Linked DNA regions of Homo sapiens: regions 1 and 2 are each linked to region 3. The links are contacts of gene promoters, found by promoter capture Hi-C in blood cells and fetal thymus (Javierre and others, 2016). All regions are on one chromosome and are shown on one strand. The core of a region is centred on a gene start or on the middle of the fragment in contact, and the rest is flanking DNA. Distances in the headings are between cores, read along the strand shown. Region 1 has its middle 200 kb from the start of LINC01891. Region 2 has its middle 180 kb from the start of LINC01891. Region 3 holds the start of SPP2 (secreted phosphoprotein 2).

Region 1 (4,263 bases), core at 802-3,301, 210 kb after region 3:
TGGTAGTAGATGACTAGTTTGGAGATCCAGGAATCTGGGAGTTGGGGTGACCTGGGGATGAGAGATGGATGTCAGTCAAGACAGGCAGGTTGGTAGAAGCAGCTTGGAGCGTCTTCTCATCTTGACCACCAGTCTGACTTCCTAGAAGAGATGCTGATGGGACTCCAGGGGAAGTGTTTGTGCCCTCTGCATGCATTCCCATGTGCGCACACACACACACACACACCATATACACACCCCTGGCTCTCTACCTAGAATGTCCGACTCATCAGGAGCAAGTTGCATGCCCTGGTGAAGCTTAGTGCCTCTGCTGTGCAGGTGGGAGGGAAAGGCAACTTAGGAGCTTTAGAGCACTCCAGGCAGGCTGTAGGCCCCATCTCCTAAGAGCCTATGCTTTTATTTTTGTTTTTGTTAAAGACAAGGTCTCACTCTATTGCCAAGACTGGAGTGCAATGGTGTGATCATAGCTCTTTGAAGTCTCAAACTCCTAGGCTTAAGAGATCCTCCCACTCAGCCTCCCGAGTAGCTGGGACTACAGCCATCAGCCATGTGCCACCATGCTCAGCTAAGGTTTTTTTTTTTTTTTTTTTTTAAGAGAGACAGGGGTCTTGCTATGTTGCCCAGGCTGGTCTTGATCTCCTGGGCTTAAACAGTCCTCCCATCTCAGCTTCCCGAGTAGCTGAGGATTATAGGTGTGCACCACCGTGCCTGTGAGCCCATGCTTTTGAATGAGAGGGTGCTAGTGGGCTATTGTGTGGCACAGCCAAGCTTCCTTTCCAGGCATTATTTGTCTCTGGATGTGAAGCATTTCCTAGCAATCAGTGATGTGTTCTGTGTAGTCCTGTCCACACTGCATTTGCAAAAATCCCTCATGGATGCTGGGATGTGGTTAATTTCTGGTTTCACTTTGTAATGAAGATGCACATGTTTTCTGTTTTATGTTTTGGAGGTACATGTGTCTATGAACATAGAGACAGATGTGGACATATAGATTGATAGTCGCTTTGAAGACAATTTGAGGTGGTTTATGCTGTGGTTGTTTACATGAGAACAATGGGGAGGGAGAAGGAACCCCATGCTCCCTTGAGGTCCTTCTACCTGTCTCAGAAACCCCACATCTCAGATCCTCAACCAGATTGTAAGATCCTCAAACACAGGACAGGTTTTACTTACCTAGTGCTTCCCAGAGATGCCCAGTAGAGAGCCTTCTGCATCTTTCTGTATTTTTCCATTAGCTGATTTGGTAAACCTGATGAAGCAAATACTGTTTGGTTGAAACAATTTACATTGCTCTAGGCAACGCTATTCCTCAGCCAAATGAATTAGATGATTAATAAGTATAACACGTAATTGAATTCAAAGTCCACGTTTGCCATCCCCTAAGCAGAGGAGGTTTCGTTGTATATTGTTATTGATGGAAAGAAACTGAGGTACTTTGGCTAAACAAAAGAGGGTACAGATGGCATTGTGCTTCAACTACACAAAAGGAGCCTGCTTATATACATGCTTGCTGCATGCCAATTTCTGCTCTCTGGTATTTTAGTGGAGAAAGGAGATTTCTTTAAAGACACTAAAGTAAGTATCAACAAAGAAGTGATTTATCTTTATATCAGAATTTTGGCTTGGAGCACAATCAGGATTTTGGGTCTGTTTGGGGCTAAGTAGAAATATATGTGAGACCAAAATAGGTTTTTCCTGAACCTTCAAAACTATACACAGTGAAAGAAATATTAGCTTCAAAAATCAAAGTGATTGGATTTTCTAGAATCTGTATGATATGATGAGAAAATGTATGCAATATACATAAACCAGAATAGCCTTCCTTATTCAATGTTAACACTTTTTATAAGAAAGTATTAGACCTATTGATTTAGCAACTACATAATTATTGGTACTTGAAATACAGGCTTATAGAAACGAAGAAGTCAGAGTCACTCATTCAAAATGTAAGCATAAATATGACTTCCATTAGCAATACCGGATTCCTGGATAGAATGGCCCAGTCTAGTCATCCCAGCAGGTCAAAGTGGCAAACCAGGTCAACACCAGAAGAGGCCCTTACAAATCCAAACAGAAACTTCTTTCTAAACCAAATCATTTGGAAAACACCTGAGCAATCCATGAAGTTTTTTACTGAGGTGCAGACATTCCAAAAGCTAAGCAAATATTCATGTAATGAGTGCCCCAAGACCATCAGCCGTGGACCTGTCGTTACTTCAAACAAGTCAGGATTTCAGCCAGGTCAAGGTTGAAGAAGAATAATTTTGGTCTAAGCACCTGGCATTTGCTCTTAGGTGTGGTCAAACTATATATAGGTGGATGCCGCCAGTCTTTAGTTGAATTGGGCAAAGAACTCTGAGTTCAGTAGGGGTGTGTGTGTCTGTGTGTGTGTGTGTGCATTTGAAATCTTTTTCATCTTTAATGAAATCTATTTTTTAAATGTCCTTCTTGTCTAAGTGCAACTAAGAGAGAGACTGCCCATACTAAGAGATTGGGGTGTTTGCTCAGGGCAGGGGTACAAGGCACACCTATTCCTCACCCAGTGCAAGCTGGGGGGATGGAGGAATTAGATGACTCCTGAGTTCGCTGCTCTAACCAGAGAGGGAAGGGGCAAGCCTGCATTCTTGTCAAGGTGAGGATAATTCTGGCCTCATGTGACCCAGCTTTGCTGATCCTACCAGGTGAGCATTCCTGAAATAACTGCTATCCTCGTGGAGTCCTGTTCCTGGTCCTGTCTACTCAAGAGATTGTGGGTGTCGCCTGCCTTGAGTTGGCCACCCTCATGGGCTTCTTTGTTACTGGCAATCAAAGTCCTGATAACCTTGATGTGATACCCCTGCATTCATCCCAGGTAAAATTCTAATGAAAAGCCACTTCTCTCAGATCATCATGTGGGATGGTAGATTTCACCTGTTGACAGATACCTAGGGATAGATATGGACTTGGAAGTCAGGAGGACCTGGGTTCAAATCCCTACTCATCCACTTGTGGGCAAGAGAGCCTGGAAAATTTACTTACTCTAAAAACCTGTTTCATTGTCTATAAAGATGCAGATAATAACAATGACAATAGAATTTTATATGGACTGAATGAGCTAATCCAATGTAAATGTGTAACACTGGGTCTGATTTGGTAAAAAAGCACCATTTTATAAACATAGAGAGCAATTCAGGATGAGGAAAGGCAACAGAGTTCTATTACCTTTCAGGTCTCAGTTCATGTCAATATCAATTTTGAAATGTCATTCAACAAAACAAGTATATAGTGAGTTCTTATTAGGTGTCAGGCACAAATTCCAGGAGTTGGGTAAGACAGTCAGTGTCCCTACCCTCAGGAAGCTTACATTTTAATAAAGAAAGAAAGGAAAGAAGGGAGACAGGGAGGGAGGGAAAGAAAAAATAAAATGTAATTGATGTAGCAGTACAAACCCTCAGGCATTATGATAGGGGTGACTTTTGCAAATCCCCCCGATATGGTTTGGCTGTGTCCCCACCCAAATTTATCTTGTATCGTAGCTCCCATAATTTCCACGTGCTGTGAGAGGAACCTGGTGGGAGGTAATTGAATCATGGGAGCAGTTTCCCCCATGCTGTTCTCATGGTAGTGAGTAAGTCTCACAGATCTGATGGTTTTATAAAGGGAAACCCCTTTTGCTTGGCTCTTATTCTCTATTTGCCGGTCACCATGTAAGATAGCCTCTTGCTCCTTTTTCGTTTTCTGCCATAATTGTGAGGCCTCCTCAGCCATGTGGAACTGTGAGTCAATTAAACCTCTTTCCTTTGTAAATTATCCAGTCTTGGGTGTGTCTTTATCAGCAGCGTGAAAACGGACTAGTATACCCCCTAACCCTAACCCTAACCAAACAACTTTGATTTTGTCAGAAATAACCAGAGTTGGTTTTCTCAGTAATCACCACCAAATTTCTCACCATTGCATCTGGAAAAGTGGAAACAGCATTCTAGGACCCTGCCAAGGATGGGAAGGCCGGGAGGGGTGTGGCCTGTGTCTCAAGAACAATCTACCTGTAACCAGACAGGGTTGTTCATCTTTAGGAAATCCCTACTGCCCTAAGCTAAGACGGTGGATGTGAAAATGTCCCACTTGCTGGAGGAGGGAGCTTAACCTCGGAGAGAGCATTTCTGAGGCTTCTGTGGCATCTGTTAAGTCTTCAAACACATAGGACTCTCTCCAAGTCAAGCGACGAGAAAGTGCATTTTTCACAGTGCTTGCTGCAGCACGTTTCAGGGAGCATGTGTGGAGCCT
Region 2 (4,873 bases), core at 1,357-3,856, 220 kb after region 3:
TGTGCAGCTACATTATCAAGAAAACAAAAAGTGAAATCACAAAGAGATACTACTATGTGCACAACAGAATGGGGAAAATAAAAAAGACTGAAATACTCAGTGTTTGGCAAGCAAACAAAGCAGCTTGGAGCTCATACCCTGCTGGTGAGGGTGTACATCAGCACTGGAAAACTGATCATCAGTATTTAATAAGCTGAATACATACACTCTCATACCCTGCTGGTGAGGGTGTACATCGACACTGGAAAACTGATCATCAGTATTTAATAAGCTGAATACGTACACCTCATTACCCAGAAATCACAGTCCTCGGTACATATTCAGCAGAAATGTACACACGAGTTTACCAAAATACTTTTACTAAAATATTCATAGCAGCTCTATTCAAAATAGCCCCAAATTGGAACCTGTCCACAGGCTCAGCAACAATAGAATGGATCAATAAATTGTAGTATATTCACAGAGTATAATACCTAATACCACACAGTTACTGAATGAATAATCTACAGCTCCATGCAAGAATATCATTAAAATCTCACAAACATAATGTTGAATGAAAGAAGTCATATTTGAAGTGTCAATCAAGGAAAATGACCGAGTGAAGTCTCAATCATTTTAGAAGGTTTATTTGCCAAAGCTAAGGACATGCCAAGGAGACAGGTCTGTGCTTTCTCTGAAGACGATTTCGAGGGCTTCAATATTTAAAGGGGAAAGGGCTGGATATTGAAAAATACACAATTTTCTTGTGAAAGGGGGATTAGGGGAAAATAGCCATTCATGCCTCTGTCTGACTCAGTGAATTTGCAGTTATACATAAGACAATACAGACAATAGGGCAGAGGGAAGAACCAGACATGCATTTGTCTCAGCTGGGCAGAGGGATGGCTTTGAGTTCTGTCCTATGTCCTCGCACCTGTGAAGACAAGCCATCAATTTACATTGCCATGGTGAAATTTAACAGAAACACTTTAGGGTAAGAATCTTGGGGCCCAACAGGAATTTCCTGGTGGGTAAAATGTGAGGGAGGTATGTAGCTTTTCATCTTTGTGGCCATCTTATCTAGGAACCAAAATCGGAGGCAGGTTTGCATGACCCGGTTCCCAGCTTGACTCTTCCCTTTGACTTAGTGAGTTTGGGGTCCCAAGATCTATTTTCCTTTCACAGAAGGAAGTCAATACTGAGAGAAAAGAGAATATATCACAATTCTATTTTTACTTTAAGAAACGGCAAAACTTCATCAGTGCTGTTATGCTCTATGTGGGATTGTGGTTACCCTTAACAAATAGTGACTGGTAGGAGTATGAAAATGTCTTCTGCGGGTGCTTGTTTCTTAACCTCTTTGCTGGTTACATGGTGAATTTCCATTGGTGAAAATGCATCTAGTTGCCCACTTAGGATATGGGTGCTTTTCTAAATGTATATTATACTTGTGAAAATTCTCAGAATCAAAATGGAGTCACTTGTGACAAACCCTAATAAAATGGAGTTGGGAGGCCTTGAAGAGAGGGTCTTCATGCATATTTCCCTGATAGCAAGAACGATCACAGAGAATGGACAAACCACACCTTGCAGTTAAGGTCATTCTTATGAGAGCACCTTTCCAATAACAGCCAGTCCTAACTGAAACCTTTTAAGTAGCCATATATATATATATATACATATACACACATAATACTTTAAGTTCTAAGTCAGTGTCACTTCTGTGAAGACCCTCTCCTAAAAATGGCCAGTACACACATCACTGCCTGTGATAAGCCTCTGTAGACAATGAACTTTTGCTTCAAAGCAACCTGCATATACTTCCCCTCTTTGCCTTTAAAAGTTTCCCTAGCCTCAACTTCCCCAGATGCATCTATAGTTTGCTATAGCACATGTATTCCAAATTATAATTCCTCTGCCATTTCTCAGTAAACTAATTTCTTTACAGAACCACTCTGCCTGTTGTTATTTTAGGTTGACACACTTCAATAAAAAGCTTAAACAAGGTGTGCGGAACTGCTGTGTGCCTCAACCTTGGTGGTGGTCAAAGAAATCTACCTATGTGATAAAGTTGCATGGAACTAAATACCCACACACACAACAGAGAGCACATAAAACTGGAGAAATCTGAGGAAGTGGGTACATTGAAAATAACTTTTTTCCTCCATTCTTCATGAGTTCTTAGCCGGAACTCCCTGTGATGGAAGACAGATTAACAAGAGAAAAACAAACAAGTTTGGAACCGCCTTTGCAAAATTATGACTGAGACAATGAAGGAGATCTAACCTAACTGACTCCATCTTACTTCTAACCTTTAAGCTGTCCTTGTTCCTTCCTGGGCTTAGGCTGAACTAACTTTGGTAGGAACTTGGTTTATAGTTTAAAACAAAGACAAAAACAGCCCTTTCCTAGAACAAACCTTCTTGCCTGGGGACTAGACTGCCTCTGTAGGAATAACAAATTAGCCACAAGATTAGAAATTAAGGTTTAGGAGTCATGCAGCTGGAGGCTACAAGATTCTGACCCTCCCTAAACTGCTCCTGAGATCAGGGCTTGAGATATTTTGCAGACCCAGCACTTGATGGACCAGCTGGCCCCGCCCAGATCGATGAACTGGTTTATCCGATCTTGTGGCCCCCACCCAGGAACCGACTCAGTGCAAGGGGACAGCTTCAATTTCCCATGATTTCATCTCCTACCTAACCAATCAGCACTCTTGGCTCACTGGCTTCCCCCCACCCACCAAGTTGCCCTTAAAAATTCTGATCCCCAAATGCCCTGGGAGACTGATTTGAGTAATAATAAAACTCCAGTCTCCCGCACAGCCGCCTCTGCGTGAATTACTCTTTCTCTATTGCAATTCCCCTGTCTTGATAAATCAACTCTGTCTAGGCAGCAGGCAAGGTGAACCCACTGGGTGGTTACAAGTTTAATAACACAAATACCTCCTGTATATGTAAGAGATACCCAGAGAGATGAGTAAATTAGAGTAGATCTCAAAGAGTTGTCTTCAGGCTTAAATGCCATTACTCGCTGAAACATAGGAGGATGTGGGCAAAGTTCTGGTTAAGGTGAGATGGCCAGGAAGAGCACCATAAACCCAGGGTAAGGTTTGTTATCAAATTTAAGTCTTCTCCATTGATTAGAGTCTCTAGTGATTTAGTCATCCTCCTCTTCCTGGTGCACAGAGGGAGACGCCCTTACAAATAGAGATTTCCTTTATAGACATCAATTTCCTTACAAAAGGAACTCTGCTTTCAAAGCTTTTCCTGTGCCTGCCTTTTCCCAAAATAATCAGCACAAAATAATCCTTATGCCAAAGAGGCATGTTTTGGGGAGATATGCCCTGAGCCCCATCATTGTCATTGTCAATTTCATGGTTGTTATGCTGTATTAAAATTATGCAAGATGCCAGACGTGGTGGCTCACACCTGTAATCCCAGCATTTTGAGAGGCTAAGGCAGGTGGATCACCTGAAGTCAGGAGTTCGAGACAGCTTGACCAACACGTTGAAACCCCGTCTCTACTAAAAATACAAAAAAAAATTAGCCAGACATGGTGGTGGGTGCCTGTAATCCCAGCTACTCCGGAGGCTGAGGCAGGATAATCCCTTGAGCCTGGGAGGTGGAGGTTGGAGTGAGCCGAGATTGCGACGTTGCACTCCAGCCCGGGTGACAAAGTGAGACTCTGTCTCAAAAAAAAAAAAAAAAAAAAAAAAAAAGGCAACATGTTACCATTTGGGTAACAACTGGGGTCTCTCTATTTGTTTCTTACAACTGCATGTAAACCTACAATTATCTAAAAATGAAGTTTTTTTTTAAGTGTGTGTATATGTCTAGAAAAGACCTTGAAAAGGTGTTAAGTCATGACATTGGCAGTGGATAAGTATAAGATGATGAATAGGATTAGGCAGAGAAACGAAAGGTGAGTCTTGCTCAGTGTATTTATGTATCCTTGAATCTTTTTCTATAAGAATGTATTCATATGTCATGTTGTGTATTTTAAGAAAAAAAGACAATTTCTTTACTCTCCCCACCCCCAAAAAAATTGATTTCCAACTCTCCCAGACCAACTGAGTTGTTCAGGCATAAATTAATAAAACACATTTTCACCCCAAGGTCAAACATACAGTGGCCCTTATGGGCACTGATTGGTTATATAAAGTAGTTAAGTTGGTGATAATTACACTAGCATAGAAGCTTTAGGAAGCCTCTGGACCTGCTGCAAAAATAGCCACCAAATTCTGAAGTGGCTGAAGGTCCTTTCAAATCCCAGTCGCCTCCTGCTGCATGATCAGAGTGTCCCAGCATGATCCTATCTGCCTCAGTGCCTGAGGAATGGTAAGCAAGCCATGGGAATTCTGTATGAACCCCAGAGAGAGCACCTGCCAGGGAAACTGTGTGACTGATTAGGCCAAGGAGAATCAGAGTTCATTTTTGCATGGCCCTTTGCCCAAACCTCCCAGGCAAAAGTTTAGTGCTTACAAAATGAATATTTACTTTGAAACCATATGGAGCACCAGGTGTAAGAAAGCATGTATCTATTATTTTACCTCACTCCCTCTATGGCTCAAATACGGTCTTTATTTTTCACTGAATGATGACAGCTCTTTAGAGCAGCACTAAAGTCTCCCACTCAGGTATAACTAAAAAAAATTATTTTTCTGAATTTTTACACCTATGTTATTTGGTGCACAGATTATTTTGTGTGTTGTAGCTCAGCCATTAATGGCTTTTTAATCTATCTGTAAAGTGACTCTGTGTCCTGGTTTATGTTTTCTGCCTAAAACCCTTTGTCTCATTAATTGCATATTAATTTTGCAATGTCTGTCTTTTTCTCATTATTGTTATTATCATTTTTGGTCCAGGGTTTTTAAAAGTTTAATTCTCTATTT
Region 3 (4,720 bases), core at 1,691-4,190:
TGTGTTTAGGTCTCCTCATCTTCCTGGTTGGTAACAGTGCCTGGCCTGCCTTTAAAGAATATCCCTGCTCCCCACCACATCCCTTGGCAAATGACTGCTGTCTCATTCCCAGTGTTGCCTTTTCTGGTCTTTTGTCCTGGGCTGAGGCTCCTTCTCTCCTGTTGAATGAGTTTGCATCCATCAAGGCCAAGGTCAAAGAGACACATGATCTCCTGGGCACTGAGCTTGAGAGAAGAACACAAACTGCTAATGTTTCCATCATCTCCAAGAAGTCTTTCTTCAGCTTCTCTCTGAATTCCTCCAGGGATTTGTATTACCTGTGTTGGCACCCACATTTGCATTGTTTATGAAGGATAGGCTGGATTATTAGTTCATTTCAGATATTCTCTGGACCTGTTGCCTTACACGTAGCAGATACTAAAAGTATCTATTGAATTGAATTCTTACTAGTGGTTACCAATTGTTGAGCAATTAATTGCCAAGTACTCTTCTGAGAGCTTGTTATTTAATCTGTATATGATGACTAATATAATGTGTCAACTTGGCTAGGCCACGGTACTCAGACATTTTGTCAAACACTATTTTAGACGTTTCTGGGAAGGTATGTTTAAAAATGAGATTAACATTTAAATTAATAGACTTCGTGCAAAGTAGGTTACCCTCCATTATGTGGGTGGGCCTCATCCAATCAGTCAAAGGCCTGAATAGAAAAAGACTGATGTCCCCCGAGCAGGAAGATATTCTGCCAGTCAATTGCCTTTGGCTGAAACGCAACTCTTCACTGGGGCTCAAGCCTCCCAGCCTACACCACACACTTTGGACTTGCCAGCTTCCACAATTGTGTGAGCAAACACCTTAAAATCTCTTTCTTGTAAACTTGTTTAAGCTCTTTGTAGATTCTAGGTATTGGCCCTTTGTCAGATGGATAGATCGCAAAAATTTTCTCCCATTCTGTAGGTTGCTTGTTCACTCTGATGATAGTTTCTTTTGCTCTGCAGAAGTTCTTTAGTTTAATTAGAGCCCATTTGTCTATTTTGGCTTTTGTTGCCATTGCTTTTGGTATTTTAGTCATGAAGTCTTTGCCCATGCCTATGTCCTGAATGGTATTGCTTAGGTTTTCTTCTAGGGTTTTTATGGTTTTAGGTTTTACGTTTAAGTCTGTAATCCATCTTGAGTTAATTTTTGTATAAGGTGTAAGGAAGGGATCTAGTTTCATCTTTCTGCATATGGCTAGCCACAAGGAAAAAACAACCAACCCCATTAAAAAGTGAGCAAAGGATATGAACCGACACTTCTCAAAAGAAAACATTTATGCAGCCAACACTCACATGAAAAAATGCTCATCATCATTGGTGATTAGAGAAATGCAAATCAAAACCACAATGAGATATCATCTCACGCCAGTTAGAATGGCGATCCTTAAAAAGTCAGGAAACAACAGATGCTGGAGAGGATGTGGAGAAATAGTAACACTTTTACACTGTTGGTGGGAGTGTGAATTAGTTCAACCATTGTGGAAGACAGTGTGGCAATTCCTCAAGGATCTAGAACTAGAAATACCATTTGACCCAGCAATCCCATTACTGGGTATGTACACAAAGGATTATAAATCATTCTACTATAAAGACACATGCACAGGTATGTTTATTGTGGCACTGTTCACAATAGCAAAGACTTGGAACCAACCCAAATACCTGTCAATGATAGACTGGATAAAGAAAATGTGGCACATATACACCATGGAATACTAAGCAGCCATAAAAAGGGATGAGTTCATGTCCTTTGTAGGGACGTGGATGAAGCTGGAAACCATCAATCTCAGCAAACTAACACAAGAACAGAAAACCAAACACCACATGTTCTCACTCATAAGTGGGAGTTGAACAATGAGAACAAATGGACACAGGGAGAGGAACATCACACACCGGGGCCTGTTGGGGGGTGGGGGGCTGGGGGAGGGATAGTATTAGGAGAAATACCTAATGTAGATGATGGGTTGATGGGTGCAGCAAACAACCATGGCACATGTATACCTATGTAACAAACCTGAAGGTTCTGCACATGTGCCCCAGAACTTAAAGTATATATTTAAAAAATCTCTCTTTTTCTTTCCCTCTATATTTTGGTTCTCCTTTCTGGAGAACCCTGACTAAGAACACACCTGACCTCTAACCATTTATGCCTATTTTATAGATGAGAAAATTGAGGTTCAGAGGTGTTGAGTGCCATGCCCAAGGGGATACTCCTGGTACATGGTAGAGCCAAGATCTCAGTCCAGGTCTTTCTGAGACAAAACACAGCTTCTTATGCGTGAAATCCACAAATAAGAACACAATGACCTACATACAACACAAACTGTACTTCCAATTAAGTAGTTCTCCTTTTTAATCATTCAAAAACTACCTTGGGATCTTACAGTGCATGGGAATCATCAATATGTAAATACCTTATTATCCAGGTGATGTGCAAAAGTGTCCAGTAGCACAGAAGATTGGTTAATAGGATGGTGTGTCCCAGCTTTTTACTGCACTTGTACTTGCTTCGAATATTTAGGACCCCTATATAAAATTATCTTCTCCAAAGTCATAATTTCCAAGAAGATCTTATACCCACACTATTTTCATAAGTAGTCAACTGCAAGATCTTTAGAACCATGAGGGGATCTCAATACACAACAATTTAAGATTAACCATTTTGTTGAATGTAAGATTATATCCCCTCCAAAGAATGAAATTAAAATAGAGAAAAATAAACAGCACACGTGGAATCCTGAGCCTCTTGATGCCTTTTGCCTTGGGCTAAAGTTCTCTTGTGAGTTGTAAACTTCAAAAGTGTCCTCAAACTGGAACCTTTCCATAGGAAAAGTCAGCAGAAAATATTGACCCCAGGATCAATTGTTTCTGTTTAAGTTACAGATTGCTGCAGTCAAAATAAGCAGCCAGTGTTTGATAAAGACAGCTCCTCTTAGGAAGAACTGTCATCCCCAAACACATAGAGAGACACTCTCTGTCTCTCGATTACAATCATGATTTCCAGAATGGAGAAGATGACGATGATGATGAAGATATTGATTATGTTTGCTCTTGGAATGAACTACTGGTCTTGCTCAGGTAAGGTATTCACCAACCTGGCCACCTGCTCTGGATCATGCAGAGCCATGCTGGCGCCTGTGTCTTGTCTCACTGTGCCCCATGTGCTTGCGTGTCCAGGTTTCCCAGTGTACGACTACGATCCATCCTCCTTAAGGGATGCCCTCAGTGCCTCTGTGGTAAAAGTGAATTCCCAGTCACTGAGTCCGTATCTGTTTCGGGCATTCAGAAGCTCATTAAAAAGAGTAAGTGCAAAATGAAATCTTCTCTACTCCTCCTTCCAATGCTGTCTGCCTTTTGTCAGTTCATTGGATATACTTTTAAGAAATTTTCTCCAGTTTAAAAATGATAGTAGCTAGTCATCTCTTTCATACTGTCTCTTTTCTTTGACAGAGAAAGATTTAATTACAATTTTTTGTCATGAGGCTATCCAAACCACTTTTGATGACTGATTCTTCTGCTGTATTCTCCTCTCTAACCTTGTCTTCTGGTTCCCTGCAGCCTGCTTTTGTACTTGAAGTCCTCGCGATTCTTTCTGAGGTGTTTTATTACGAACTTCTCATTTATTGGAAATGAGCCTCCTTTCAAATTCAGCAGTTCTGCTCCTAATACTTACTGGAAATAATCTGGCTTTTGAGTCAAAGAAATTCACCTTTCCTTGTCAATTTGGTAATAGTCTGTTTCCTCTTAGCTTTGGGAGCTAAAGAAAGAGTAATCACTTGGGCTTCCAATGACTAAGTCTGTGATATGCAAGGAAAGAAATGTAAAAATATCCTTCAAAGGAAATGAGAAACATAAGCAGCAAGTCATCTCCCTTCTTCCTGTTCCCCAGGTAATTTCACTGCCTTATTATCATCTGCATGGGGCTCATTTGGAGGTAGGGATGAACATATTTTCAAGCAAATTTAGGTTAAGGTGGGAGGTAGAGAGGTTCTATAAAGTTGCACATCTTAGGAATGAAGGCTCTGTATAGCCAGGCAGCATGGGAATGAGAATGAAGACACGGCTGAAGGTCCAGGCAGCAGAGGCCAGATGGACATTGCTTTCTCTCTGTCTGCCTGCTGCCTTCTCCCATCCCTCCTGGACTGACTCTTAGCTTGTTCCCTCTGCTACTCTGTAGAGCACATGGCTCATGATTTCCTAGTTCTAGTCTCCAAATACAACATATTCAGCTTGATCTTCCTCAGAACCTGGCTCCTAGTTTCTCTTTTCCAAATTTCAAGGGAAATGAATCAAAAGGACCCAGTTTTATTTTCTAGTTTGATTATAGTTCATGAAGACTATGGGCTATGCTTTTTTTTAGGTGCCATTCCAGAATCATGGCCAGAGTGGAGTCACTTGCTCTGGATGTTGTGGTGTGGAGGCACTGGTCAGCTGCCACACCAAAGGTTGAGCTGCTCCTGGATCAGAATACAGAACCCCCTTTCCTTGCTTGTATTGTATTTCAAATGCCAGTTTCCATTGGCATTTAATGAAATCCACTTGTGGTGGTGTGGAATCGGGGTCTTTTTGCCAACCTTGCAGATGAACAGTTTAAATTTACTTTTGATTTAGCTATTGCTCACCACAGAAGAAAGTTAGCAGTTTATTAGATGAATAAGAGCATGAGGATAGATCCCAAGAGAACCAAT

What was found. Contacts are between HindIII fragments. The CHiCAGO score rates a contact against its expected background, and 5 or more counts as called.
Region 1: a fragment that was not itself captured here is called in contact with the fragment with the promoter of SPP2 in region 3 in 1 of 17 cell types (total CD8 T cells); the score reaches 5.8 in total CD8 T cells.
Region 2: a contact is called between a fragment that was not itself captured here and the fragment with the promoter of SPP2 in region 3, in 1 of 17 cell types (total CD8 T cells). The highest score is 5.7, in total CD8 T cells.

The regions. Positions count from the first base shown.
Region 1 is chr2:234,254,050-234,258,312 of GRCh38, forward strand. No RefSeq gene overlaps it. Among named protein-coding and RNA genes, the nearest start is that of LINC01891, 200 kb to the right of the region's middle. The HindIII fragment of the contact is 2,570 bases long and covers 767-3,336 here.
Region 2 is chr2:234,271,358-234,276,230 of GRCh38, forward strand. No RefSeq gene overlaps it. Among named protein-coding and RNA genes, the nearest start is that of LINC01891, 180 kb to the right of the region's middle. The HindIII fragment of the contact is 1,267 bases long and covers 1,974-3,240 here.
Region 3 is chr2:234,047,762-234,052,481 of GRCh38, forward strand. It overlaps SPP2 (secreted phosphoprotein 2), which reads left to right and starts at 2,941. Exons shown (of 8, transcript NM_006944.3): 1 at 2,941-3,110; 2 at 3,210-3,334. The coding sequence starts at 3,026. The HindIII fragment of the contact is 10,293 bases long and covers 1-4,720 here.